Regions from separate parts of the Homo sapiens genome. Here all the other regions are linked to region 3. Evidence: promoter capture Hi-C in 16 types of primary human blood cells and fetal thymus (Javierre and others, 2016). All regions are on one chromosome and are shown on one strand. The core of a region is centred on a gene start or on the middle of the fragment in contact, and the rest is flanking DNA. Distances in the headings are between cores, read along the strand shown. Region 1 overlaps PDCD11 (programmed cell death 11). Region 2 overlaps GSTO1 (glutathione S-transferase omega 1). Region 3 holds the start of SH3PXD2A (SH3 and PX domains 2A). Region 4 holds the start of NEURL1 (neuralized E3 ubiquitin protein ligase 1). Region 5 overlaps CFAP43 (cilia and flagella associated protein 43). Region 6 has its middle 10 kb from the start of CFAP43. Region 7 overlaps CFAP43 (cilia and flagella associated protein 43).

The links. The method cuts DNA at HindIII sites, captures the fragments that hold promoters and counts their contacts. A CHiCAGO score of 5 or more calls a contact.
Region 1: a contact is called between a fragment that was not itself captured here and the fragment with the promoter of SH3PXD2A in region 3, in 1 of 17 cell types (M1 macrophages). The highest score is 5.1, in M1 macrophages.
Region 2: a fragment that was not itself captured here is called in contact with the fragment with the promoter of SH3PXD2A in region 3 in 2 of 17 cell types (megakaryocytes and M1 macrophages); the score reaches 6.1 in megakaryocytes.
Region 4: the fragment with the promoter of NEURL1 here is called in contact with the fragment with the promoter of SH3PXD2A in region 3 in 1 of 17 cell types (erythroblasts); the score reaches 6.7 in erythroblasts.
Region 5: a fragment that was not itself captured here is called in contact with the fragment with the promoter of SH3PXD2A in region 3 in 5 of 17 cell types (naive CD4 T cells, non-activated CD4 T cells, fetal thymus and 2 more); the score reaches 9.2 in naive CD4 T cells.
Region 6: a contact is called between a fragment that was not itself captured here and the fragment with the promoter of SH3PXD2A in region 3, in 2 of 17 cell types (M1 macrophages and M0 macrophages). The highest score is 5.8, in M1 macrophages.
Region 7: a contact is called between a fragment that was not itself captured here and the fragment with the promoter of SH3PXD2A in region 3, in 1 of 17 cell types (total CD4 T cells). The highest score is 5.3, in total CD4 T cells.

Annotation. Positions count from the first base shown.
Region 1 is chr10:103,432,353-103,435,816 of GRCh38, forward strand. It overlaps PDCD11 (programmed cell death 11), which reads left to right. Exons shown (of 36, transcript NM_014976.2): 23 at 1,596-1,685; 24 at 1,896-1,998; 25 at 2,446-2,623. Among named protein-coding and RNA genes, the nearest start is that of CALHM2, 18 kb to the right of the region's middle. The HindIII fragment of the contact is 679 bases long and covers 1,776-2,454 here.
Region 2 is chr10:104,260,529-104,264,101 of GRCh38, forward strand. GSTO1 (glutathione S-transferase omega 1) reads left to right here. Exons shown (of 6, transcript NM_004832.3): 4 at 2,451-2,549. The region is part of intron 1 of LOC124902497 (a long non-coding RNA gene); the gene reads right to left. Among named protein-coding and RNA genes, the nearest start is that of MIR4482, 6.1 kb to the right of the region's middle. The HindIII fragment of the contact is 1,782 bases long and covers 687-2,468 here.
Region 3 is chr10:103,853,235-103,856,915 of GRCh38, forward strand. It overlaps SH3PXD2A (SH3 and PX domains 2A), which reads right to left and starts at 2,342. Exons shown (of 15, transcript NM_001394015.1): 1 at 1,961-2,342. The coding sequence starts at 2,032. The HindIII fragment of the contact is 2,015 bases long and covers 1,430-3,444 here.
Region 4 is chr10:103,492,205-103,495,667 of GRCh38, forward strand. NEURL1 (neuralized E3 ubiquitin protein ligase 1) reads left to right here and starts at 1,501. Exons shown (of 6, transcript NM_004210.5): 1 at 1,501-2,268. The coding sequence starts at 2,184. It overlaps NEURL1-AS1 (NEURL1 antisense RNA 1), which reads right to left. Exons shown (of 4, transcript NR_120675.1): 3 at 2,357-2,531. RefSeq lists silencers at 1,710-1,859, 1,870-1,999, 2,080-2,179 and an enhancer at 1,846-2,395. The HindIII fragment of the contact is 3,415 bases long and covers 1-2,590 here.
Region 5 is chr10:104,199,513-104,203,149 of GRCh38, forward strand. All of the region lies in intron 8 of CFAP43 (cilia and flagella associated protein 43), which reads right to left. Among named protein-coding and RNA genes, the nearest start is that of MIR609, 18 kb to the right of the region's middle. The HindIII fragment of the contact is 1,327 bases long and covers 709-2,035 here.
Region 6 is chr10:104,240,671-104,244,305 of GRCh38, forward strand. No RefSeq gene overlaps it. Among named protein-coding and RNA genes, the nearest start is that of CFAP43, 10 kb to the left of the region's middle. RefSeq lists an enhancer at 2,461-2,755. The HindIII fragment of the contact is 475 bases long and covers 1,434-1,908 here.
Region 7 is chr10:104,224,522-104,228,080 of GRCh38, forward strand. CFAP43 (cilia and flagella associated protein 43) reads right to left here. Exons shown (of 38, transcript NM_025145.7): 3 at 940-1,036. Among named protein-coding and RNA genes, the nearest start is that of CFAP43, 6.1 kb to the right of the region's middle. The HindIII fragment of the contact is 496 bases long and covers 1,203-1,698 here.

The DNA.
Region 1 (3,464 bases), core at 865-3,364, 420 kb before region 3:
GTTTGTGGGAGACAGTACGTGGCCTCTGCCACTAGAGAACTTCTGGTCTAATTAGGGAGCTAAAATATGGCTTACACACAATTAGCAAGCAGCTCGTAATTCATTGTTGGTAGGTTAATTGTAGAAATGGAAAGTAAAATACATGGCAAGATTTAGAATATAAATGTATATAATTTGGATTTTAGATTCATGCTTTTCATGAAGTTCAGGTGCACTGTAAAACAACATGAAATTGGGTGCCAGATTATGTGTTCCAACCCCAACTGGAACAGGAGTTCAAAAAGGAAGGAAAGCAGCCTGTACTGGTTGAAACATGTAGGAGAGGCGGCTGGATTGGGTTTGACCTTGAAGAATAATACCTCTCCATTGTTGCCAGATTCCTCTTCGATGAGCATCTTTGAGCATGATCGTCTCTGATGCTTGATCCCTTCAGTTACCTATTGTCTATAGACATTCATACACCCCAGATGCCTTAGCGTGGCAGATAAGGCTCTTCATAATCTGACCTTCCGTGCACCTTGTGTGGCAGTCATTCTGAAAAGCTTTTCTGTCTTTTTCCCTTCCTGTCTTTATTCATGCTGGTTTCTACATCTGGAGTACCTTCTATTCCAATTGCCTACTGCCCATCAAGGTTCAGCACAGATAACCTTCCCTCGTTACTAGTTCCTGTAGCATGTTGTACTTCCTACATGTTGCTTGCTGTTGTAGTTATTTGCACACTGATTTGACTTACTGCTTGTAGGCTGTAATCTCCTTGAAGGCAGGCTCTGGCTTTTATTTATCATTATGATGCCATGTGCATAGTAGCTGCTCGATAAATGATTTGTTAAGTTGACTAGAAAATTGGAGTATGTATTTACGGCCAGGTGTGGTGGTTCACGCCTGTAATCCCAGCACTTTGGGAGGCCGAGGTGGGCAGATCACTTCAGGTCAGGAGTTTGAGACCAGCCTGGCCAACATGGTGAAACCCCATCTCTACTAAAAATACAAAAATTTAGCCGGGCCTGGGGCGTGCGCGCCTGTAATCCCAGCTACCCTGGAGGCTGAGGCAGGAGAATCACTGGAACCCAGGAGGTGGAGATTGCAGTGAGCCGAGATTGCCGCCACACACTCCAGCCTAGGAGACAGAGCGAGACTCTGTCTCAAAAAAAAAGGAGAAAATTGGAGTGCATATTTAGGGCAAGACACTGCATAAACAGTGAAGGATCCAAATCCAAATTGGTTTAGAAATTAAAAATTGGCCTCTGGAGATGGTTAACAATCGCTGGGCACAGCTGAGCTTGGAGGAGGCTACAGAGGTCTGTGGGATTGGTTCTCCAGTTTGAGGACATCTCTGGAGTCTCTTTTGCCTCCTGGTCAGCTGAGACCCTGGAAGAGATGCACATTCTGCTAGGCTAGCAAAGGTTCTGAGCTGGAGTCTGAGGGAAGCTGGTGAGAAGTGGAGGTTGGGCAAGGGCAGTGGGATGGAAGGGTGGATTCCTGTCTCTTGGAAAAGTGTACTGGGGCCCTTTCCACCTTGTGGTTTTAGGAAAGTTTTAATGGCGGGAAACCTTGTATTTGTATTTGCCCTACTCTGGTTCCTTTTTTTCCCTCAGTACAATGTGGTGAAGAAATGGCTTGAGGTGGAGATTGCCCCAGACATCCGGGGGAGAATTCCCTTATTGCTCACTTCTCTGAGCTTCAAGGTCAGTGTGCTTGAGATCCCTGGAGAGGGGACCCAAGTTCCCTAAGCTTGGCCCAGTGCCTGGTGTGTGGGTTTACAGTGGATTTGAGGAAGCTTGTTCTTTATTTAAGGGTTGCTTTGGGAGATACTTGCTTTGGAGACTTAAATGCTGTGGTTTTGGATAAATGACAGCCTTTCTTCAAGCATCACAGGAGTTTTTTTATCCTTCCAGGTTCTGAAGCATCCAGATAAGAAGTTCCGGGTTGGCCAGGCCCTGAGGGCCACCGTTGTTGGCCCAGATTCCTCCAAGACCCTCTTATGTCTGTCCCTCACAGGTGTGGGGATGAAACAGTGCCTGGTCGGGGAAGGGGAGCGGCAGGAAGGGGTGGGATGGGTTTTCAGCTATTGCTTGAGTTGGAGGACCCCTTCGGTATTGGAATCCTCAGAAAGCCTGGTGTGGGACCTTCTTGGAACAGTTTTTCTCTTGGGCTTTGCTCTGGCCCAGTTACTCCACTGCTCTCTGAGTTACCTTTACCTATACAGGTTACCCTTACCTACACAGGTGTTTTTCTCAAGTCCCTGGGAAAGAGTTGTCCACCACTTGGCCCTGAGGTCCTTGGCTACATGGCAGGGTGATCTCAGTCTAGATGGTTCTGGATCACTCAGCCCAGATACCCCAAGTCTGGGCAGCCTCCACCTTCCCCAGCCTGTGTGTGGCTGGCATTCCCGCTCCTCCCTTAGCTCATTTCCTCTTCCCTGAATCAGGTTGGTTCTTCCACCAGGTCCTCACAAGCTTGAGGAAGGGGAAGTGGCCATGGGCCGAGTGGTGAAGGTGACTCCCAACGAGGGGCTGACCGTCTCCTTCCCCTTTGGGAAGATAGGAACAGTCAGTATATTTCACATGAGTGACTCCTACTCCGAGACGCCCCTGGAAGACTTCGTCCCCCAGAAGGTTGTCAGGTAAGCGAAGTGTTCTTCCTCTTTTCACCTGTCTGTGGAATTGGTATATTTAAAAAAAAACGTTGTTGTAATACATGACTTTTTATCAGAAAAACAGGTATATGAAATAGAAAATGAAAATTTCTGTAACCCCTCTGTTTCTCTACCACTTTTTGCCATTATGTACTTTGATTTCTATCTTTCTAGACTTTAATGCATATATATATAGTTTTTCTTTATATAAATAATAGAATATCATTTGATATACTGTTTTTTTCTCATAGTTTATCATGAATTTTTTTCCTTTTCTATGCTAATATATCAAAATCTATTTTGTCCTTTTACCTTATTTTAAAACGTTTGTTTAGTATTCTGGGGTTTTTTTAATTGAAATTTGTGTAACCAATTCTCTGTTGATAGACAATACTTTTTTTGATAGACAATAATGTTGAAGTATCTTTGTACATATATTTGGGTTTTTTGTTTTTTTTTAATTGAGACAGAGTCTGGCTGGAGTGCAGTGGCGTGAGACAGAGTCTGGAGTGCAGTGGCGCGAGACACAGCCTTTTTTTAACTGAGGCAGTCTGGCTGGAGTGCAGTGCGTAGGCTGGAGTGCAGTGGCGCGATCTCAGCTCACTGCAGTCTCCTCCCAAGTTCAAGCAATTCTCCTGCCTCAGCCTCCCAAGTAGCTAGGATTATAGGCATGCGCCATGACGCCTGGCTAATTTTTGTACTTTTAGTAGAGACTAGGTTTCGCCATGTCGGTCAGGTTGGTCTCGAACTCCTGACCTCAGGTGATCTGCCCATCCTGGCCTCCCAAAGTGGTGGGATTACAGGCATGAGCCACGGTGCCTGGCCCTTT
Region 2 (3,573 bases), core at 328-2,827, 410 kb after region 3:
AACTCAGATGACTGAATAAATAGCAATCCTGTAGAAGAACTGTTTGTACCTTACTTAGCATCAACACTGTGGATTAGTTCAAACAATTAGTATTAACAAAGAAATGACTAAAAGATGTGTGTTTAGACACCAAGAATAGCATGTCTGGTTATATGCCTATAACATTGTCACCTTGGTAGTACGGTCAGTATATAAAGGATTATCTTTAGAGAAAAAGATGGTTAAAGAAATGCCCTAAGAGAGAGTTATAGGGAAAACATTCTGTTTTAGGAGACATTATAAAGGGAAGCCAATGGGACAGGAAGAGTGAGTCATCTGCTTAGTAAGATGAGGGTGAAAGAATAGTAGAGGCGGCTGCTGTGAAAGATAATGTAAAGGGAACATGACATTTTCAAGAACGATGTGGGAGAGTTTTACAAAGTAGTAACAAGTTAAAGGCATGCAGCTTCAAGACACGAAGTCATCAATACCAACCAAAAAAAATAAGCCTAAGTGGTTCTTAAAGAAAAATCTCTTTGGTCTGGTGCCAGTTCTGGAAAACTTTTTTTAGTATGGCTGGAATATAAAGTGTCAGGAGAAGAGATAAAAGGGGTAACTTTGGAGAGGTAAACAGGAACTGGATCGTGAAAGGACTTGTAGGACACGTCAGAGAAAATGAGCTTTAAAAGTAAAGCTTTTAGACATGAAGCTTTACTTTCATGCATAAAGCTACTACTTTAAAAAGTAGTCACAAGAGATTCATTGTACTATCTAGAAAGAAAATGAGATTTAAAAGTAATGCTGAAGATGCCCACCTTTACTTCCCTGCTTGGGTTTTAAAGGAGAGGTGGCTTTATGTACATATGACCCTGCTCTCCTGGCCACAGCCCATCAGAACAGAAATGTACCCCACCCCACACACCTGGGCCAGTTATCTTCTCTCCTGGGAACTTGGAAATGAGACACAGAACTAAGACAGTAAAGGTTAGGACAGTAAAGACAACTAAGCGTTGGGGCTCAAATAATGTTAATTAGAGGCTAGAAAAACCAAAGCCACTTAAGAAATAAATTTTTAGAGGAGCAAGAATTAAAAACATTGCAAAGGGACTGAAGTATGCAAAGTAATATGGAGCAGAAATGTGAGGAAAAACAGACGAAAGACCAGGCAGACCCAGGTGGAAATGTGGATGAAAGGGCTGCCTGAAAGCCTTCAGTCCCAGTGAAGGCAGGCTGAACTGATGTGGATGGGATTTCATGGGATTCTATATTTTTACAAGTGCCTGTTTACTTAAACTAGGATGAGTGGACTTCTGCGTCTTGCAATAAAATGATACCAAAGACCAAAGTATTAAAACACATAAACACCATCACGAGCATTAAAGCATCTGATGCTACACCCATCAAGTCTTTAGGTAGTCGGTCCCTTTTGAACAGTCTCCTGGTGTCCTCCCCAACAAAGAAATCAGAAAAATTTTCTTCCCTAGCTCTTTGCAGTTGGGGCCAAGTTTTGTGACCTAGGCTCTTCCTGTCAGACACACACATAGAGTTCAAATCAGAAACGAGCAAGGTAAGGAAACAGGCTTGGTGGGATATCTGCTTAAGATATTCAGCTCTCCACTGGTTTTCCTGGTGAGAGCAGCGGCAGAGCTTCTGGGTTTCAGCAGTGTGGGTTACAAGATAAAATTCCAGAGTAGAAATGGCATCAGTGCCAGTGGTGTTAGCAGTTATCTCAGACTCTACTTTCTGGCAGCCTCACAAACTGAAGCATCTGGTGCTCAGCTTGGACTGGCAGCAGTGAGTGCTTCCCATTAGGCCATTTCTCAGCATGAATTTGGGATGTTCTGTCTTAATTCCAAGCCTGTTTGTTCCGCCTCCCAATAATTCTATGAGCCACTCAGTCTCCTTTAAAGAAAGTTGTGTTGGCCGGGCGTGGTGGCTCAAGCCTGTAATCCCAGCACTTTGGGAGGCTGAGGCAGATGGATCACCTGAGGTCAGGAGTTTTCAGACCAGCCTGGCCAATATGGTGAATCCCCATCTCTACTAAAAATACAAAAATTAGCCTGGCGTGGTGGCGCACGCCCATAATCTCAGCTACTAAGGAGGCGGAGACAGGAGAATTGCTTGAGCCCGGGCAGTGGAGGTTGCAGTGAGCTGAGATCGTGCCACTGCATTCCAGCCTGGGTGATAGAGCATGACTCCATTTCAAAAAAGAAAGAAAGTTGTTTCTTAAACGTGCCAGGGTAGCTTCTGTTATTTGTAATTTATAAAATCCTGACCAAGCCAGCATTTTAGGCCACAAAACTGTTCCTAAGACCAGTCCATTACCTCTGTGAGCGCAGGAACTTGATGCACCCTTGGTGTTTCTAGAACACCTTGACACCAGGACTGTAAGGGTTCTACCATATTTTTATGTGAGGGGGCCGATACAGTTAGCCATAAACTGATAAACTAAGAAATTATTCTCTGTCTAGGTGCCATCCTTGGTAGGAAGCTTTATTAGAAGCCAAAATAAAGAAGACTATGCTGGCCTAAAAGAAGAATTTCGTAAAGAATTTACCAAGCTAGAGGAGGTAATTATTTCTCCTAGCTATCATCAGAGTAAACGATAACTATATCTACCCTCCTTTTCCTCCTATTCTTTTCTTTATATTCCCACTTTCCAAGTCACTTTAAGGTAATTAGGAAAATTCCCCTAAACATTTTTGTTTACAGCAGACTGCTGTTATAAAGCAGAAAGCTGTCCTGCTTAAGATATAAATCAAAACACCTAAACAGACTTTGTCATGGGCTTGCTTTTAAAATATTCTGCTAATGTTAAAATAACAAGGAAAAAGGAAATTGTACCCACGTTTCCACAAGTTTTTATGTATCCAGTTTTCCATGCTTGTTTGCAGTCCTTGTCCATATATTTAAAAAAAATTAATATAGCTCTAATCAGAGCATAGATATCATTCTGTGTCCTGCTTTTTTTCCTGTGTCCACTTAGTATTACATACTAAATATTTCCCACCAGAAAAAGTTTGCAATGAACAGTACAGACACTTGAGGGAAGCCCAGATGTATTTTACCTTCTTTTGGGGACAGCTGACATTTGGGCCTTGGAGTCTGTCTCTTGGCCTTGAAATATTTCATTCATGCTAAGCCTGAAGTTTTTACTGACAGAAGACATAGTTCCTGTCTTTCATGGGAATGCATTTTAACATTTTATCAGTAAGCATGATGTTTGCTGTAGGTTTTTCAGAAACCTTTTTTTCATTATAAAGTTCTCTTCTATTACTAGTTTGCTAATTTTTAAAAAAGTCATAAATGTTGAATTTTATTGAATGGTTTTTCTGCATCTGTTACATCTATTGAAATGTTCATAGAATTTTTTCCTCTTAATCTGGTGAATATGGTGCTATTGACAAATTTTTTTTTTTTTAATGTTTAACCATCCTAGCATTCCTAAGATAAAACCTACTTGTTCTCTATGGATTTTTATATGTACTGTAGAATTAGCTAATGAATGATTTTTGTATGTGTGTTCATAAATGAGATTGGCCTATAAATTTTCTACTCTTATAGTATCATTATTGGCTTTTGGTTTCAAGGATA
Region 3 (3,681 bases), core at 1,092-3,591:
TAGAACAAGTTATTATCAATCTTAAAACCCAAAATCTTTCTTCCTTTTTGCCAGACCATTAATAGCTGCTTTTCAAAAATACTTTCTTAGTCAGAATCTCACCAATAATAAGCTACCATTTAATAAGAGCTTACTGCGTGCCAGGAACTGGGCTAAGTGCTTTACATAGATGATCTCATTTAATTCTCCCAACAAGTACATACTATTATTATCCTTACTTGAAATTGAGTAAACTGAGGCTGGGGGAGGTTTAAATAACTTGCCAAGGTGGCACAGCTAGTTACTGGCTGCATGCCAGGCTTTGAGCAAGACCGTCTAACTTCAGAACCCCAGCACGCAATCTTGCCTTTCAATCCTGTCTGCAGTGGGCCCCGGTTCTAGTTTGTTACCAGTGTGTCCTGCATCTGCAACCTTGGGCACCATCGGTGGGAGCTGAAATGTGATGTTTCATTTAAAATCCAGAGTTGGAAACGCACCTGCCTGGGTCTCAGAGCAGAGTGCCATCTGTTGAATGCAGTGCCAAGCTCAGCTGAGGACTACAAATGAGAACCCTTAAAACTTAGCCTGCAACATTTGAGAAAAATAAACCCTGGGATATACAAAGGGACATCTGTCCACAGAGCAGGTTGACCACCTGGTGACCCAAGCCCTCCAAAAAGAGCTTTCTTGTAACAGCAGCAGAAAATGCTTGCTGGACCAGATGACACAAAAGAAACAACTCTCTAAGGGTGTCAGGGACTGGACCCGACAGGCACCCACCTCCCTGCCTAGTCAACCTGCCTCCACATTTACCTCCTCCCCATATGAGCCCAGCCGCATTTGCTCAGCTGTAAAGAAACTCAAAGTTCAGAGCTACACTGGTGACAAAGGCAAAAAGAGTAGCCCGAGGCTGACATTGCCACAAACCCCAGTCCCTTTGCAACAGTGGAAGAAAAGGCACTTCAGAGATCAATGTACAATCCAGGGCAGCAACCAGCGCCTGTTTTAACTGTTAAGATTAATGCTTTGAGCACTGGAACTGCTCCTCTAAATACCCAATTTGCAAATAACATGCAGTCCTCTGTGCTTGGGTCTCTTCTATCTCAAGTACAGGAGCACAGACGCTCAGAGGGGTCAAGGACACCGTGTTTACTTCCTAAGGTGTGAGGGATGGGAAGACAGGACCGGCTGAGATGAAAGGGGAACTGTCACATAGGCTCTGGAGCTGCCCCAGTCAACCTTAACCCCTTCTCATTAAAGTTTGGGGGAGGAAGGGGGAGGGGCGGTTCCTCGGAGACCACAGCAAACATTCGCCTCCTCGTGTCTGGAGATGGAGCATCACTTAAGAGGAAATGAACCCGGTTAAGGGTCACGTCCAGAGGAGGGATAAAAGGAAAAGCCACAATTCTCCTCACACCGACGGACACAATGGCTTTATGAGGGAAATCAAAGCTTAGCGCGGAGGGTGGAGGTTGGGCAAGGGGGCGGCGGCTTCCTTCTGCCCCCAGCCCCAGGCCTAGGAAGGCAGAGACAGAGCTGGCGTGGGAGGCAGGGCGCGAGGCTTCCTTCTCCAGGGCGAGCTCTGAAAGCATCTCGGGCTGTGTGAGCGTGAGCGCCCAGGGCCCCTGGGGAGGGCCGAGGAGATGCGCTTTCCCGACGGGGCTGCTCTGTGAGGGGTTGACGAAAGCTCCCCCCACCATCCATCAAAGGCGGACAGATGACTTCACCGTTGTAACAGACAAGGGCAGCCACTTGCCAATTCCAATGCCAAAAAAAGAAACCGGGGGGGCGGGGGTGCGAAGGAGGAAGGACAGAAGAGGCTTCCCTGGAGATCACAGCCCTGCGAAGAAACTCCACGGCTGCTGGCTGCCCAGTGGGCGCTTAGCTTCGCGACCTCACAGCTGGGAGGGGCAAGGGGCCATCCGGGGCCCTCCCGGGACCTCGGGCCACCCCCAGCAGGGTCGGCGGGGGCTGTACTCACGTAGTGCTTGGAGGGGTTCCTCCGCTTCTCCACGTCCACCACGGTGGCATCCTGCACGCAGTAGGCGAGCATCTTCCCCCACAAAGCGAGTGGCGCCCCCGGCGGCGTCACCTTCTCATCCCGGCCGGGCTCCGGCTCCTTCTCCAGCTGCCGGGGTCCCGGGGCCGCCCGCCACCCCGGCCCGGCGCGCCGAACGCTGCCCGGACTCCCGGCGCCCACAGGTCCGGCCCAGGGACGGGGGAGGGTCCCGGAGGGCGCGCGGGCTCCGTGCGCCCCGGGGGACTCCCCGCCGGCCTGCCGCGCGCCCCTTCACTCCCGCGCGGCCGCCGCGCTGCGCTCGCCCGCTCGCTCTCTCCGCCGCCCGGTGGGTCCGGCGGGAACTGGCGGAGCAGAGGAGGGGCGGGGGTGTGTCCCGTCGGCGAGGGGACGGGGCGGGGGCCCCGGAGCCTGCTGTCAGCGTCCTGGGGAGGGGCCGGCGGCTCCCCTTCGCCGCTCTCCGGCTCGGGCTCCGGGGGGATCGGCGCTGGCGGAGGCTGTGGGCGCAGGAGGCGGAGGCAGGGCCTGGCAGGCAGGGAAGGGAAGGGAGGGAGGGGAGAGAGGGGAAGCGCGCGGGGAGGGGCTCCGGGCCGGGGGAGGGGCTCGGGGCGACGGGGAGGGGGCTGCAGCCCGGCCCCAGTGGCAGGGGCGGGCCGACGAGCCCCCACCCGAGCCCAGCGCGCAGCCAGCGGCCTGGCGCAGCACCGGGCTAGTTCGCTAGGCACAAAAACTCAGGGTGGCTTCGGGGGGAGAGGGAGCGGGGAAAGTGAGCCCCGCGCGCCCCCATCCTGGCTTTCCGCCTCGGAGCGGATTTGTGCCTTTTTGTCCCCACTTTTATGTCCCCCTACAACTTCCACCCCCAGATCTCTTTAATGAGAAGTAGTTTATTACCCGGCTGTTACTGCCCAGGCCCCCGAGGAGGAGATGGGAATGGGGAAAAGGCCAGCTTTAAATCCTTCAAGCCAGAGCCTCTTTGGACGAACCACCTGACCCTCTGCAGGTCATAAAGGGTGAATTCTCCCCGGAAAAGTGATCGATTCGTTGCCTGAGTCGTCCATCGATCTGGGCTTGTGTAACTACCCTGTGCATCATTTACCAATGACAACGTTACAGACTCTGCATAACACCACTGCCTTAAGCCCAGGGCTCCCCTGGGGACCCTCCCCAAGCTGGCGACAGGGAAAGGAGCATACAATGGTGGGAAAACCCACCCGGTTGGAGGCCAGCTCACCGTGAGCCCCAGGCTCTGGCATTCTCACCCCTCCCTCTAGTCTGGAAAACCCACTTTCCAAGCCACTTGTCCGTGGTCCCTGGACTTGGAGCACAGTTACTACTTAATTCAATGTAGCTTCCCCCCTTCTAGTTCAACATTTTTTTCCCATTCTGCTTTCAAACATTTAAAGGGTAGTGTTTTCACAACTACTCCAGTTGTTACACAATCACAATAAAGCTTTGTGACTGTGGACCAATGTGAAACATCTGAAAAGAGGACAAATAATTTTGTGACCTAATTGCATTAATACTTTCTTCTGCGCGTTCTCTAGACTGTCAGAACCCAGGCACAGATCTAAGGCTTTATTTATTCACATATTTGCTCCATACAGAGTAACCCACTATTCCTCCAACCTTCCTGGGGAAGGGCGCTAGGACACCAAACGATGGCACGGGACAAAGAAAAAAAAAGA
Region 4 (3,463 bases), core at 251-2,750, 360 kb before region 3:
CCATCTGCAGCTGCCTGCACACGTGATCCTGGGCATCTGGGAGGCTGGAGGCCGGGTTCGGGGCTGCCTTTCCCTCCAGATTCCAGAGAGACAGTGGCTGTCACAGATATTTCTAGCTTGCCTGGAGTCCCAGACATTTAAGGGTAGAATGCCTGGAATGGGGATGGAGAGAGGAGAGTAGGAGAGGAAAATAAAGGGTGGTTCAGGAGGCTCTGCCCCCAGGGATCTCAGTGGAGCCTCCTGGCCCACAGTGGGAAGCATGCATTCCACAATTATTTTCTGAGAATCTGTCACATGCCAGGCATTCCCCCAGTGGGTAAGGACACCCTGGTGAACACGACTGACCTGTGCTCTCCCCTCACAGAGCTTATGTTCTAGCAGGGAGGCAGAAGATAAACGAGGAAAGGCTACTTGTAAACAAGTTCCATATAAAAGCTATGATGAAAATAAAATGGAATATTGTGGAAAGTGACTGACAGTGGAGGGGGTCCTTTAGTTGGGGCAGTCAGGGAATGTCAGGACACGAATTGTGCCTAGATAATGAGGAGCTGCCAAATGGAGACTTGGGGGAAGAACCTTTATTACAGAAAAGGATACATGAGATGTCCCCCTGCCCACCCATGTCTTCACTGGACTCTGGATCTGAGTTGCTGAAGCCAGAGCAGGGAGCTAGAGATGACTTAGAGGAGCAGGAAGTCTGATTCCCTGGGGGGAACCTTGGAACATCTTCCATCCCTGATAGACCAGGAGAGATGCCCCGGGTCCAGGAAGGAGAAGAATGACTTCTGTTTCCCTTCCTGAAGGCTTCTTGGTGCAGTGTTGAGCTACAGGAAGGCACTAGCCACATGAGCAGGGCCCTTGCTGAAACCCCCTTCCTCCAGGAAGCCTTCTTTGACTGCCATAGGCTGCAGAGGCTCCTCTCCCCCACCTTGTTATAGCTAACAGAACCACTCAGTTCAGAGCTGGTGGTCTTCTGATGATCTGTCCCGGAGATCTGTTCCCTCAGCTTGGCCAGAGCTCCAGGCTTGTGAGTCTGGTCCGCGGGCATTCAAAGGCCCTCAGTGGCATCTGTGCATCAGTGAGACTGCCCGGGGTTCCTGCTCTGAACCCTTGCCCTAGTGCCCCTAGCCTGGCTGAGAACGGAGGGTCAAGTGCCGGGGTTCTAATCTCAATTACTTTATCCAAGCATCCGCTCGCTCATTTACATGTTTCCCTGGGCTCTCCACTCTGCGCCAGGCCCGGTACCTGGAGCTAGGGAAACCGAACATTAGTGCTGGCTCGCCCGCCCCCGCATCCGGGGAGCTCGGCGTTCTCGCGGCCCTGCTCCCCTTGTTTTCAAGTGCAAGTTCCATGTTTCCGTGCTGGGAATAAGGCCAGCCCCGGGTGCCACCATACTCGCCTGATGTCTTACCCCGACCCGCGCCGCCGAGAGCTTGCGGCTACGGGAACGCGGCGCGCCCCGGGGCCACATCTGGCCTAGCGGGCGCGCGCGTGTCACTAAGACGCTCATTCACCGGCGCAGCTGTCACCATAACAACCGGAGCGAGGGAATCCTGGAGACTGCCGGGGCGGGGGGCGGGGGCGGCGGTCGCAGGAGGGACCCGGCGCGGGCGGGACCGCGGCGGTCGGGGGACACCAGCTGCGTCGGAGCGCCCAGAACGCCCCGCGCTCCGCCGAGCCCCGCTCCACGCAGACCCGCGGGCGGGAGGGAGCCACGCACATCGCCGCCGCGGCCGTCTCCGCGGGGCGGTAACCGAGCCTGCCTCGGAGCCGCCGAACGCCCACGCCAGCGACCCTGACTCTATGGCCCCGGGGGAGCGCGCCGGAGCCGCCGCGCCGCCCACCCCCAGCCGGAACCCTAGCGTCCCGGGGAGCAAGCGGGGAGCCCCGGGCGTCCCCGGCCCCGGCCCAGGGCCCTGCTTGTGGCCCCCGCTCCCGCCACGGGGCATGGGAGGCAGGTAGCCCAGCCTGCGCCAGGACACCCGTGGCGGGCGGAACCCGCCAAGGACCGCGAAGTCCAGAGAAAGGAAGCTGAGGAGCTGCCCGCCCGCCCCCGGCTGCAGCCCCAGCAGGGCCCTCCCCCGGTGGCGCGCACCCGCGCGCGCACACTCGCACACCGCACCTCAGCGCCTGCCCGGCCTCGCCCCCACCCGCGAGCGCCGAACCTCCTGGGGCCGGATGCCATGGGTAACAACTTCTCCAGTATCCCCTCGCTGCCCCGAGGAAACCCGAGCCGCGCGCCGCGGGGCCACCCCCAGAACCTCAAAGGTAGGCTCCCCGGCCGAGCGCTGCTGGAGGACTGGGGCGCAGGTGGAGGGCCAGGGAGGTGTGGTTGGGGAGGGCGGGCAGACGCCACCTGTTGTGCGTGTCTGGAGGCCGGAGATGCACCTCTGGCCGTGGAGTGGGCTGGGGGTGGAGGGCAGCCGGCGATGATGGTGATGGAGGATGGCGTCCCGCGGGGTCTGCGCAGTTCTGTCTGCTGGCACTGGGAACGTCACTGGAGTCCCCTCAGGCCATGGTCTTAGGCGAGCCTGAAGAGATGGGAAAGGATGTTTGCCAGGTCGATAGGGGAGTGGGGAGTGAGGAGGGAAGCTTGGGTCGTCCGTGTCTCCAGGGAGGCACCTCGATGGGTCTCCTTTCCATCGGCCCTAGGGCTGGAGAGACCAGGCTGGGAGCACTAGTTGCATTTCCAATGGGAGGGTTTTAAAAATTCAGGACAGGATTACAGCAGCCTGGAAGAAAGGGTCAGAGCTGCTGGTTCCTGGGGTCCTTTGCAGCCGTTGGGTTTTTGCATCCATTGAATTAGTTTGATTTCTGGTTTTCCCAAAGACCAGATATCCAGTCAGAGCCCTAGAAAAGAGGGTCTGGGAGCCTTGAAACAGAGGGACATTTACTAGGAATGTCTTTGCTCTTCACCTCCCCAGATCCACTCAGCACCCTCAGGGTGGCCCTAGGCCCAGTCTCCCCATTCGGAGCCTGCCATTCCTGTCTTGGATCTTCCAATGCTGTCTCTGACCTTTGGAAGACACTGCTGGGTCCTCCCGGGCCCTCAGACCCTACTAAATTCCTTCCGGAAGGTGCTTTTCTGTCACCTCAGAACCAGTGGCACTTGTCCTGGGCATGATGGCTAAAAGCCAGGAAGGGAAGCCCTTGGGCTTTCAGAAAGAATACCCCACTTCCTAAGCTCCTCAGGTTATGAGAAGGATAACAATAGTGCCCTTTAACACAAGGCATCGAACTTTCTCAAACACATTTTCAGTGAGCATGGACACTGCTTGGGGTAGTCAGCAGAGCAGAGCTAATCACACTATACCCATTTTACAGATGAGGAGAACCAAGGCTTGCTTCAGGTTCCCAAAGCCAGCCAGACCTCGGCGCTAGGTGCTAGGCTGTAGACCCCTATCTTTTGACTTGGAATTCTGTCCCTTCTTTTGCTGAACAGTTAACTTTTAAGACCAGGGAA
Region 5 (3,637 bases), core at 122-2,621, 350 kb after region 3:
CTGCCCTCACGGAACTTACCTTCTGCTGGGAGATTCAGACAATAAATAATATAACCAAATAAAATATACTGTAAGTTAAACAGTGATAATTGTAAGAAGAAAAAGAAAATATAACAGAGAAGGAGAACATTATATAGCAAAATAAGAGGGTGAAATTTTAAAGTGCATGTTTAAGAAAGACTTCAGTGAGAAGGTGTGGCAGGCCAGGTCTCACTAACAGCTGAACAGGCAGGCCTCCATGACAACTGTTTCAGCAATGACTGAGTGGTTAAGTTAAATATTAAAAGCTAATAGAGCCAGTGCCCTTACACAAACGCTTGAATGTAACAAAACCCCACCAAGAGTTTTGCCTAGGCCTTTCCTGGGCCTTGAAGCATGACAAGATAACGAAGGAATTCTCAACAGGACCCACTTAGAATTAAATAAGTTTTATTGGGGGGTCTGAAGAAAATCCCCAGACCTCCACAAACAAGCTTTATTGGGGGTCTAAGGAACTCCCCAAACCTCCATGATTTAGCAGGAGACAAAATAAGGGTAATCATACCTGGCACTTGAACCCATCTAGATTAAGTAAATTTACTGAGGCTCCAGAGGAAGGTCTTCAGGACTCAGGCCTTAGTTATATATTAGAAGTTAATCACTTACGTCTTTAGATGAATGCACACTTGCACATAGACATATAGCTTAGAAGGTATATAAGCTCTGGAAAGCTTTGTAATATTGAGTTGGTCCAGTGATATTTTCCCAGCCTTCTCCCTGCACCCGGTTACAGAAATAAACTCCCTTCTTTCCCAGTTCATCTGCATCTCGTTATTGGGCCAGGAGAACAAACAGCCCAACCCTCAGTTCGGTCCGGGAACAAAGGTAACTTTAGAGAAAAGACTTGAAGGTTCATGCTTGTAATCCCGGCACTTTGGGAGGCTGAGGTGGGCAGATCACTTGAGGCCAGGAGTTTGAGACCAGCCTGGCCAATGTGGTGAAACCCCATCTTTACTAAGAATACAAAAATTCAGCTGGGCATGGTGGCGCACACCTGTAGTCCCAGCTACTCAGAAGGCTGAGGCATAAGAATCACTTGAACCTGGGAGGTGGAGGTTGCAGTGAGCCCAGATCGCACCACTGTACTCCAGCCTGGGTGACAGAGCAAGACTCTGTCTCAAAAAAAAAAAAAAAAAAAAAAAAAAGACCCAAAGGAAATGAGGAAACTACCCATGTAGATTCTGTGGGAAGAGCATTCCAGACAGAGGGAAAAGCCAGTACAAAGACTCTGAGGGAGAAGCATGTCTGGCAGATTCAAGGAAACAGCATGATGGCCAGTGTGGCTGGAGCAGGATGGACAAGAGTTCACAGTAGTAGCAGATAAGGCCAGAGGTGGGGATTGGAGTCCACGTCATGAAGGGCCTTTAAAAACATAGTAAGGATTTTGGCTTTTTCTCAGAATGACAGGAAATCACTGGAGGGCTTTGCCTAGTAGAGAAAAATGCTTTGCTCACCTTGGCTGCTATGTTGAGAATACATTGTTTATTCTATCATGTAATGAAAGAAGTGTATTAAAATGTTCCATTAATATCAATGCTTTGTTTCTCCTTGTCACTCTGTCATGCTTTGTTTTAAATCTCTAAGGCTATGCTATTAGGTACATACATATTTTAAGTATTCATATATTCCTGGTAAATTTAATATTTTATTATTCTGAAATAAGCCCATTTATCTTTAGTAATGATTTTTACCTTAAAGCCTAATTTGTCTAATGTTAATATATTTCCACTGGTTTTCTTTTGGTTAATGTTTACATATCTTTTTCCATCTTTTTATATTTGGGTTTAAACATAGATTTTAATTTATGCTTTTTGTTTATCTCAATTGTTTTGCATTTCATTTTCTTTCTCTTTTTTACCTTGTTTTGGGTTAAACTTTTTTTTTACATTTCACTTTCTCTAGTTTGGAAATTTCATCTACTGTTCCTATTCTTTTAGTGGTTACCTTAGAAGTTGTAACATGTGTACCTAATTTATCAACATCAAAAGTTACTTTAAGCTTTATTCTCCTCCTGGGTTATATGAGATCCTTGGAACACTTTATTCTATATACCCTGCTCTGCCCCCCCCAACTTATATTATTGTTATTTGGGATTTTAGTTCAATATTATTTTTAAAACTACTTTCACATTTTTTTTTTTTTGCTGTTGTATGCAGTGTTCATTTACTGTACATCTTCTACAATGTGTCATTCTCCACCTATTACTACTGCTCTTTATTTTTGTTGCATCATAGACCTTCCCACCTGGGATCATTTTCCTCTGCCTGAAGTAAATTCTTTAGAATTTTCTCTAGTGATAGTCAGCTGCTGACACACTCTTAGCTTTGGAGTGTCTAAAATGTCTTTTTTCACCCGCATACTGAAAAGATGTTTTCATTGGGTATAGAATTCTAGGTGGTAATTATTTTCTTTCATTACATCAGGGGTCATCAAACTTTTTCTATAAATAGGCTGACAGTAAATATGTTAGGCTTTGCAAACCATGTAGTCTCTGCCACAACTATTTAATGCTGCCATAGTGGTGTGAAAGAAGCCATAAACAATACGTTAGTGGGTGTGGCTATGTTCCAATAAAATCTTATTTGAAAAACATGCAGCAGGCTAGTTTTGCCCCATGGAGCCACAATTTGCTGAACCCTGCACTACACTGAAGATATTATTCCACTATTTCTTACATTATTGCCACAGAGAAGTCAGCTATTAGTCTAACTGAAATTCCTTAGAAGTAATCTGTCTTTTCTCCGACTGCTTTTAAAATTTTCTCTGTCTTTGGTTTTCAACAGTTTCACTCTGGTAAGTCTAAGTGTGGATATCATTTTATGTATTCTGTTTGGGATTCACTGGACCTCTTAAATCTGTAAATTCATGTCTTTAAGCAATTCTGGGAAATCCCCAGTCAATATCTCTTTAATTATTGCCTCTGTCCCACTTTCTCCTCTCTGGACTCTAATCAAACATATGTTAGATCTTTTCACTGTATTGTTCTTATCTCTTATGTTCCCTTCTGTATTTCCTACCCTTTTGCTTTTCTAGTATCATTCTGAATAACTTCTGATCTATCTTCGAATTCATTTATTCTCTCTTTGGCTATGTCCAACCTTTTGTCAGACATGTTCATTTAATTTTTACTTTGCTAGTGTATTTTTCTTCTTTAGAAGTTCTATTTGGGTCTTTCCTCCTTCTTTTATGATATCTTTTTCCTAGTTTCCTATTCTCCATAGATATTTTAAGTTAGTCATTTATTTATTAAAACATAAGTTAGCATAGTTTTTTTTTTTTTAAAAAAAACTTCTGGTAATTATCAGAAACAAAAGTCTTTCCATACTTAAATTTAAGTTTCTTTCAGGCAGAAAGTCATTGAATTTTGTTTGCAATTCATCTAAAATGATTGTCTAACAATATAAATATCTGCTAATCTTGATGTCTGAAGATCATTCCATTAATTAGGAATCTTCCTAGCAGTATAATTGAAGTAAATGTTTGTTTTAATCTTGCAATAATTCATTTTTCTTCTTCTCTTATAGAACACACATTTTCTTTGGAGAACAACCTATGCCCCAATCTCAGTTCTCATTTAAGTGGGTTGACTCTACCCAGC
Region 6 (3,635 bases), core at 421-2,920, 390 kb after region 3:
AGGAAGGGCTCAACTCCCCTAAACTGGCCTTGCCCCTCCCAATCTTCTCTTCCCTGGCAAATCTCCACCTTGCCACCAACAGCCTAGTCCTTGACAGAATACGCCTAATCCTCAGTGTGAGGTTTTATACTTTTGTAGAACTCAGCTTGTATTAAAGGCTAAAAGAGCAGTGGTTAATTCAAGTTCATGGAGCAAGCCCTAAAACCAAACTAGTCCACAGCCAGTCACAGAACAAAAAAATCCTTATTTCCCACTAAGGGATCATTTCAGTCCTGGCTTCTGTAGGGTTCCAGCCAAATTCCAAGATAATCTGCAAGATGAAATTTCACTAAGTTTTTCACCCATTAATTAAGTTTTCTATGACCATTTAAACATGGGAAAAAAATCATACAGCATACTAGAACTTATTTTATTAAGTAGATGAGTAAGTGGTTTCCTGTTTATCAGCTAATTATTTGCTTTTTGTGAAATGCACCTTGTTTATGCAAAAAGTCAAAAAAATAAGTTGGCATTGTTTCTCTGTGTAAAAAGAAATGTAAATAATTAATGTTTTTAAAATAAAGGAATAATCTGCTGTGATAGAGAGTATCTAGTTATTCTATGGCAATTGACCCCTTTTATAGCAGCGATGACCACAATTTACTAAGCAGCTATTACGTGTTTGGAGCTCCATAGATTCTGAATGCTCCCACCAACTATGCTACATAGGAACCTGTGGCTCAGAGAGATGAGTGAGACTCAAGATTACACATTTAGTTAGTAGGCAGAGTTGGATTCAATCATGGGTTCACCTGCCCCTGAAGTCTGCATTTATTTTTATTTTTTTTTTGTAGAGATGGGGTCTTGCTATGTTGCCCAAGCTGGTCTTGAACTCCTGGTCTCAAGCAATATTCCCACCCTGGCCACCCGAAGTGCTGGGATTACAAGTGTGAGCCACTGCGTCTGGCCTAAAGTCTACGTCTTCTGCACAGTTTTTCTCTCTGCTCTGCCGCCGCATCCACGCATGTTTGTATAATAATAGCTAACTTATATTAAGCCACTCCTCTGTGCCTGGCATTGTACATCCTTATAAAACCTGTATTATTTAATCCTTATTGTAGAGACAGGAAAGATGAGTCTCAGAAAGTTAAGATTTTTTGCCCAACATCTCACAAGTTTCAAATGAACTTGAATTCAGGTAGTTAATTGTCTGAAAATAACTCTTCTTTCCAGCAGACTTGTAAATTTCAAAGTAAATTGGACATTTAGTTTAAATTTTGCATTTTTCTGGAAAAAGAGAGGAAAAATAGGAAATCCTTCATAATTTCCAAAAGTTTTAGAATAAATAATATGGGAAGAGGCTACATTGTTATGGATATCCTGGGCCACTTAGTGAAAATGGCTGAATGTTATTATTTGGTGCGTTTAATCTACAAATTCAGACTTCATTTTCAAGCTTCAAATATTTTCGAGATATCTGTGGAGTATAGCTTTATGACTAAATTTTGTGTCCCAAGATGCTTCCTTTACTCTTGATGCTGAAATAACTACACTAGGTTAAATACAGAAAGGGTTTGTAGGTCAACATTCAGGAAAATAGCACACTGAACATGTGGTTTTAAATAATGTTTTAATGAAGAAGAATGAGAAGGTTATTTTGCAAGACAGAGGGGATTGTCACATTACGCTTACCTAGAATTCTAAGGCAAGAATATTAATGGAGACTCATAAATCATTTGTTCAATTATTTTCAAATTAGTTCTTAAAATTTAAAAGTCAAATACAAATTATAAGATTGAAAATTAAAAATTCAAATCAAAAATTTTTAAAGCAAATATTTTTAATTTAAATGAAATTTATTACATATTTTTATATAAATTTGCAATTCTAATATTTATTATTTATCTAGTTGTCAAATAATTGGTATCAAGCTTCATACATGTTATATCTAGACCTACATACCTACAGAAATGTAGGACTAATACATTTTTTTCTATATTGCAAAACATTCTTCAGCATCCATGTGCAGCTATTGCCAATACCACACTAACTCATGACAACCCCTGGAACCAAATGGAGTTGGAATCAAAGAGACACAAGAAAATAGTCACTTGATTGTACTGGGAAACAATACTTAATTATTCACAAAGCAATACTGAATGAATGAATACACTCATGCTCTCTGAAAAAGGGAGTCAACAAATTCCTTAATATATTTTTCTGAGATGGAGTCTTGCTCTGTCACCCAGGCTGGAGTGCAGTGGCACAATTTTAGCTCACTGCAACCTCTGTCTCCCAGGTTCACCCTATTCTCCTGCCTCAGCCTCCCGAGTAGATGGAATGACAGGCACACGCCACCACGCCTGGCTAATTCTTTGTATTTTTAGTAGAGATGGGATTTCGCCATGTTGGCCAGGCTGGTCTGTAACTCCTGACCTCAGGTGATCTGCCTGCCTTGGCCTCTCAAAGTGTTGGGATTACAGGCATGAGCCACAGCACCTGGCCAATATCTTTTATCTTATCCAAGCATTCCCACCCTCCCCATACTCCTTAAGTAGTTTCCATCTCTGATGTTGAAAGAGGCACAACACACAAACCTCACAGTGTCCAAACACAGTAGCCTTTTGTTTCAAGGACATGGGGCTAACGTGAAGTCATGTGGCAGATCTTCAGAGTCACATCATGCTGGGAGAGTGTTGAGAGGTGGATCCCACATGACAGTGGTGTAGGCCCTCTAAAGGGTGGGGCCCATGGCAGGGGCACACCTTGTGGGGTCTATGGGTGGCACTATTTTTACTGGTGGAAGGTATTTGAGTTACGGGGGGCAAATCAGAACAGGTGTGTAACTCAACTCTTGCCTCTTCAGAAGAAAGAATTTGAGGGGCATAAAGCAGAAAAAGAGACCGAGGCAAGTTTCAGAGCAGGAGTGGAAGTTTATTTTAAAAGGCTTTAGAACAAGAAAGATAGGAAAGTACACTTGGAAGAGATCCAAGCATGCGACTTGAAGAATAAGCGCAATGTTTAACCTTGATCCTAGGACTTTATAGGCTAGCCCCTTTCCCATAATTCTTCCCTTAGGGTGGGCTGCCCACACGCACAATGCCTCTTTACCTTTGGGAACTGAGCACACACAGTGTGTTTAGGAAGTTGTACACATGGCCATCTGAGGCTTTCTGCCCTTTTCTGGGGGAGTGCCCCTAGAAGGTCATACTCTACCACTGTCTTTTTTTTTTTTTTTTTTTTGAGACCGAGTTTCACTCTTGTTGCCCAGGCTGGAATGCAATGGCGCAATCTTGGCTCACTGCAACCTCCGCCTCCTGGGTTCAAGAGCTTCTTCTCCTGCCTCAGCCTCCCAAGTAGCTGGGATTACAGGCATGTGCCACCACACCCAGCTAATTTTGTATTTTTAGTAGAGATGGGGTTTCTCCATGTTGGTCAGGCTGGTCTCAAACTCGCGACCTCAGGTGATCTGCCTGCCTCGGCCTCCCAAAGTGCTGGGATTACAGACGTGAACCACTTCACCCGGCCCATTTTGTCTGTTAATGCATATGCCCAGAAAGTTGCTTCTCTCTGGTGCCCGCATTCAATTAACACTTTAGTGCAGTAATTGTGGACCATCAGAAAATGGCCTCTCCCTGGCTCCAGCTGCCAATTTA
Region 7 (3,559 bases), core at 201-2,700, 370 kb after region 3:
AGGTGGGTGGATCACCTGAGGTCAGGAGTTCAAGACCAGCCTGGCCAAAATGGTGAAACCCCGTCTCTACAAAAATACAAAAAATTAGCTGGTCATGATGGCGGGTACATGTAACCCCAGCTACTCGGGAGGCTGAGGCAGGAGAATTGCTTGAACCTGGGAGATGGAGGTTGCAGTGAGCTGAGATCGTGCCACTGCACTCCAGCCTGGGGGACAGAGTGAGACTCCATCTCAAAAAAAAAAAAAAAAAAAAAAATTTACATAAACTAAATGTGGCTCCCTGAATCTAGGTACTTACATTTTTGTATAAGAAATGTTAGTATGTTATCCTTTAATCATTTCTGGAATATTTTGTACTTCCCCTTAATAAGAAAAATATCCTCTTGAAGGGGCTTATATCATGGATAGAAAAGGGAGTATAGCCTTAAAGTTGGCCACGTGAAATGATCCAGGAAAGACTAGAAATGTGTCTTAACCACAGGATTTCCCATACAGTGGGCAAAAGTGGTATAATGTTCCACTCTCTGAACATATAATTGTTCTAATGTCTCTAACAACAATTACTTTAAACTGAACTCTAATATAGAGACCATCTCAATTTCAATATTAGCAGGAAACATACGAACAACTCCAAGATGCCATTTGTTTTTTTTAAGTGAAACTTTATGTATTTATAAATATATTCTCTATCTGAGAATACATAAAGCATGTTAATGAAAGAGAATGACAATAACTAATTTAGTTCTTATATAGTTTTTGCTCTGACTGCCAAATTTTATGCCTAAACATAGCAACTGTATTAAAACTTGTGATTGGCATTTTTTCCTTCTATATTTCCTTGTTTCAGATTTTTCATGTCTATTTCCTTCGATAAAATCCAGAAGAGTAAGAGGAAAATGTAACCCAGTAAAAGGAATTCCACAGGATGCTGAAACTTACCAAAGGGCCAGTTCAAATTCTGGGAGAGAGGAGTAACTAGCCAGGTAGGTGCCACAGTAACTGAATGAAAGTAAAGTGTAGTCCAGGAGAATGTTGCCTAAAATATAAAATCCATTATCAGGATTTGATTATGTTAAGACCATGTTCAGTTAACTATGGTCTTACAGTTTATTTTCCTTTGCTAATGATTTTCACGTAATTCAAAAGCATTTAACTATTAGAATAAGAAAGATCCTGGCTAATTTCTAAGACCATGAACAGAAAGCTTAGAGCAAAGCTAAGATCCATTTGTAAAATATATTAAAGTGAATTAAGACCATTAGGTTACTGTCTCTAGACTTCAATGCAGAACTGAGCATACCGCACCATGTATGTCCCAGCATGGTCTGAAATGACCCAAGAATAATCTCATAAATATATGAGACATTGTAATTAGAATAGTTATTCAGACATCTTTAAATATCTTGGGAAGTTGTAATAATTCTAGCTTACTTCCTTATTTCTATTATCTTAGGCCATATCTGGCCCTTAGCTTAATATCTGCCAGCTTTTGGAACAGCTATAAAAAGTGACATACTCCTTTGTACCTATAGTTGACAAAAAGCAACATGAATTCCAAAGTCTTAGCAACAACATGTTTTAAAATGCGTATCATGGGGAGGCCAAAACAAGAAGCGCCTGTCTCTGCTTCCCAGTACAGAGTGGTCTGATTTTCCCTCTTCTTCATCTGCTGTTCTTCAGTGGGGTTCCACAGGTGCAAGCTTTGCCCTCATCTCAGTCTGTCTTTGTATGTTTGTGTCTCTATTGCTTGTTCTGTGGATTTTTAATAGCTGTTTTCTGCTTTTTTTCTCATTCTCATTTTAATTGACCATAATATAATCCTAAAATTTTGCTTTTGTCATTTATTGAATATATTTAGCATAGTCTAATCAACAAAGAAAAAATGTATTTATTGAGCATTCACTACAAAAACTAGTTTTTCTGTAGGCAGAGATCTTAATGATTTTTAAATGCTTGCTAAACAGACGTTTCCCCCCACAATTGAAGATGACCAACTTTAGATATTCTTTAAATCTTAGAAAATATGGTATTTGAAGAAAATGCCAAAAAAAAAGAGAGAAAAATATACCCTCTATAATCCTACTACCAAACTTGGTAAATTTCTTTCTAGTCTTTTCTTCTGTGTTTACTTGAAAAAATACATACATATATATTTTCTTTAAATATAACTTTGCTTTTTATAGCTATACTAGCCATAGATTAAATATTATATATGAGGCCGGGCGAGATGGCTCACACCTGAAATCCCAGCACTTTGGGAGGGGAAGGCAGGTGGATCACTGAGGTCAGAAGTTTGAGAGCAGCCTGGCCAACATGGTAAAACCTCGTCTCTACTAAAAATCAAAAATTAGCCGGGTGTGGTGGCAAGCACCTGTAATCCCAGCTACTTGGGAGGCTGAGGCAGGCGAATCGCTTGAACCTGGGAGGCGGAAGTTGCAGTGAGCCAAGACTGCGCCACTGCACTCCAGCCTGGGGGACAGAGCAAGACTCTGTCTCATCATATATATATAATATATGATAATCCATTTTTAAATGGAATTGGATCATAGTGTTGCCTCCTATTGGTTTTTTATTTACGTTATATTGACCATTTTATCATTATCTTAACACTTCTTTAAAAGTGTGATTTTTAATGTTTGCATAATACCCCTTTATAGTATATTTTATTTAACTATATCCATAATACTGGAGATGTAGGTTGCTCCAACCTTGTGCTATTATCATAGTGCTTTTTAAGCTCATTTGCATGTAAATCTTTGACCATATTTCTAACCATTTCCTAAAAATTGAATTCGTCTTGAAGTGAGTATACTGGGTCAAATAGAGTCAATATTTATTTCACAGAAAGACTCTATCAATTTATAGTCCCACCTTCAGCAAATAAGAGTGCTACCAATTTCACTGCATTCTACCTAGCAATTATGATCATAAAAAAGTTGTGACCTTGATAGGCAGAAAAATAGCATCTTGGTTTAAATCACACTTTTTAAAACAAATCTTGAGATGAAACATTTTTTGATGTCTTTGGTTATTTGGAGTTTAGTGATTTGTCTGGGTTAATTTCTTTTCCATTGTTCTAAGAGGCTGTTTGTTTTGTTCTTGTTTCATTAATGCTCTGAAAATATTTGATCATATTTGTTCCAAATATTTTACCTGGTTTATTATTTCCCTTTTAATTTTTCATGGTGTTTTTGATGTTAATCAGTTTAAAACAGATATACAATCAAATATGTCTGTCTTTTCTAAGTTTTTGTTTTGTGTGAAAAGTTCTTCCCCTTCCTGGAATCACTCCTCTATTCTACCATGTTTTCTACTTTTTTTTTTTTTTTTTTTTTTTTTTTTTTGAGACAGAGTCTTGCTATGTTGCCAGGCTGGAGTGCAGTGGCGTGATCTCGGCTCGCTGCAACCTCCGCCTCCCGGGTTCAAGCGATTCTGCATCAGCCTCCTGAGTAGCTGGGATTACAGGCATGCGCCACCATGCCCAACTAACTTTTGTATTTTTAGTAAAGATGGGGTTTCCCCATGTTGGCCAGGATGGTCTTGATCTCCTGACCTCGTG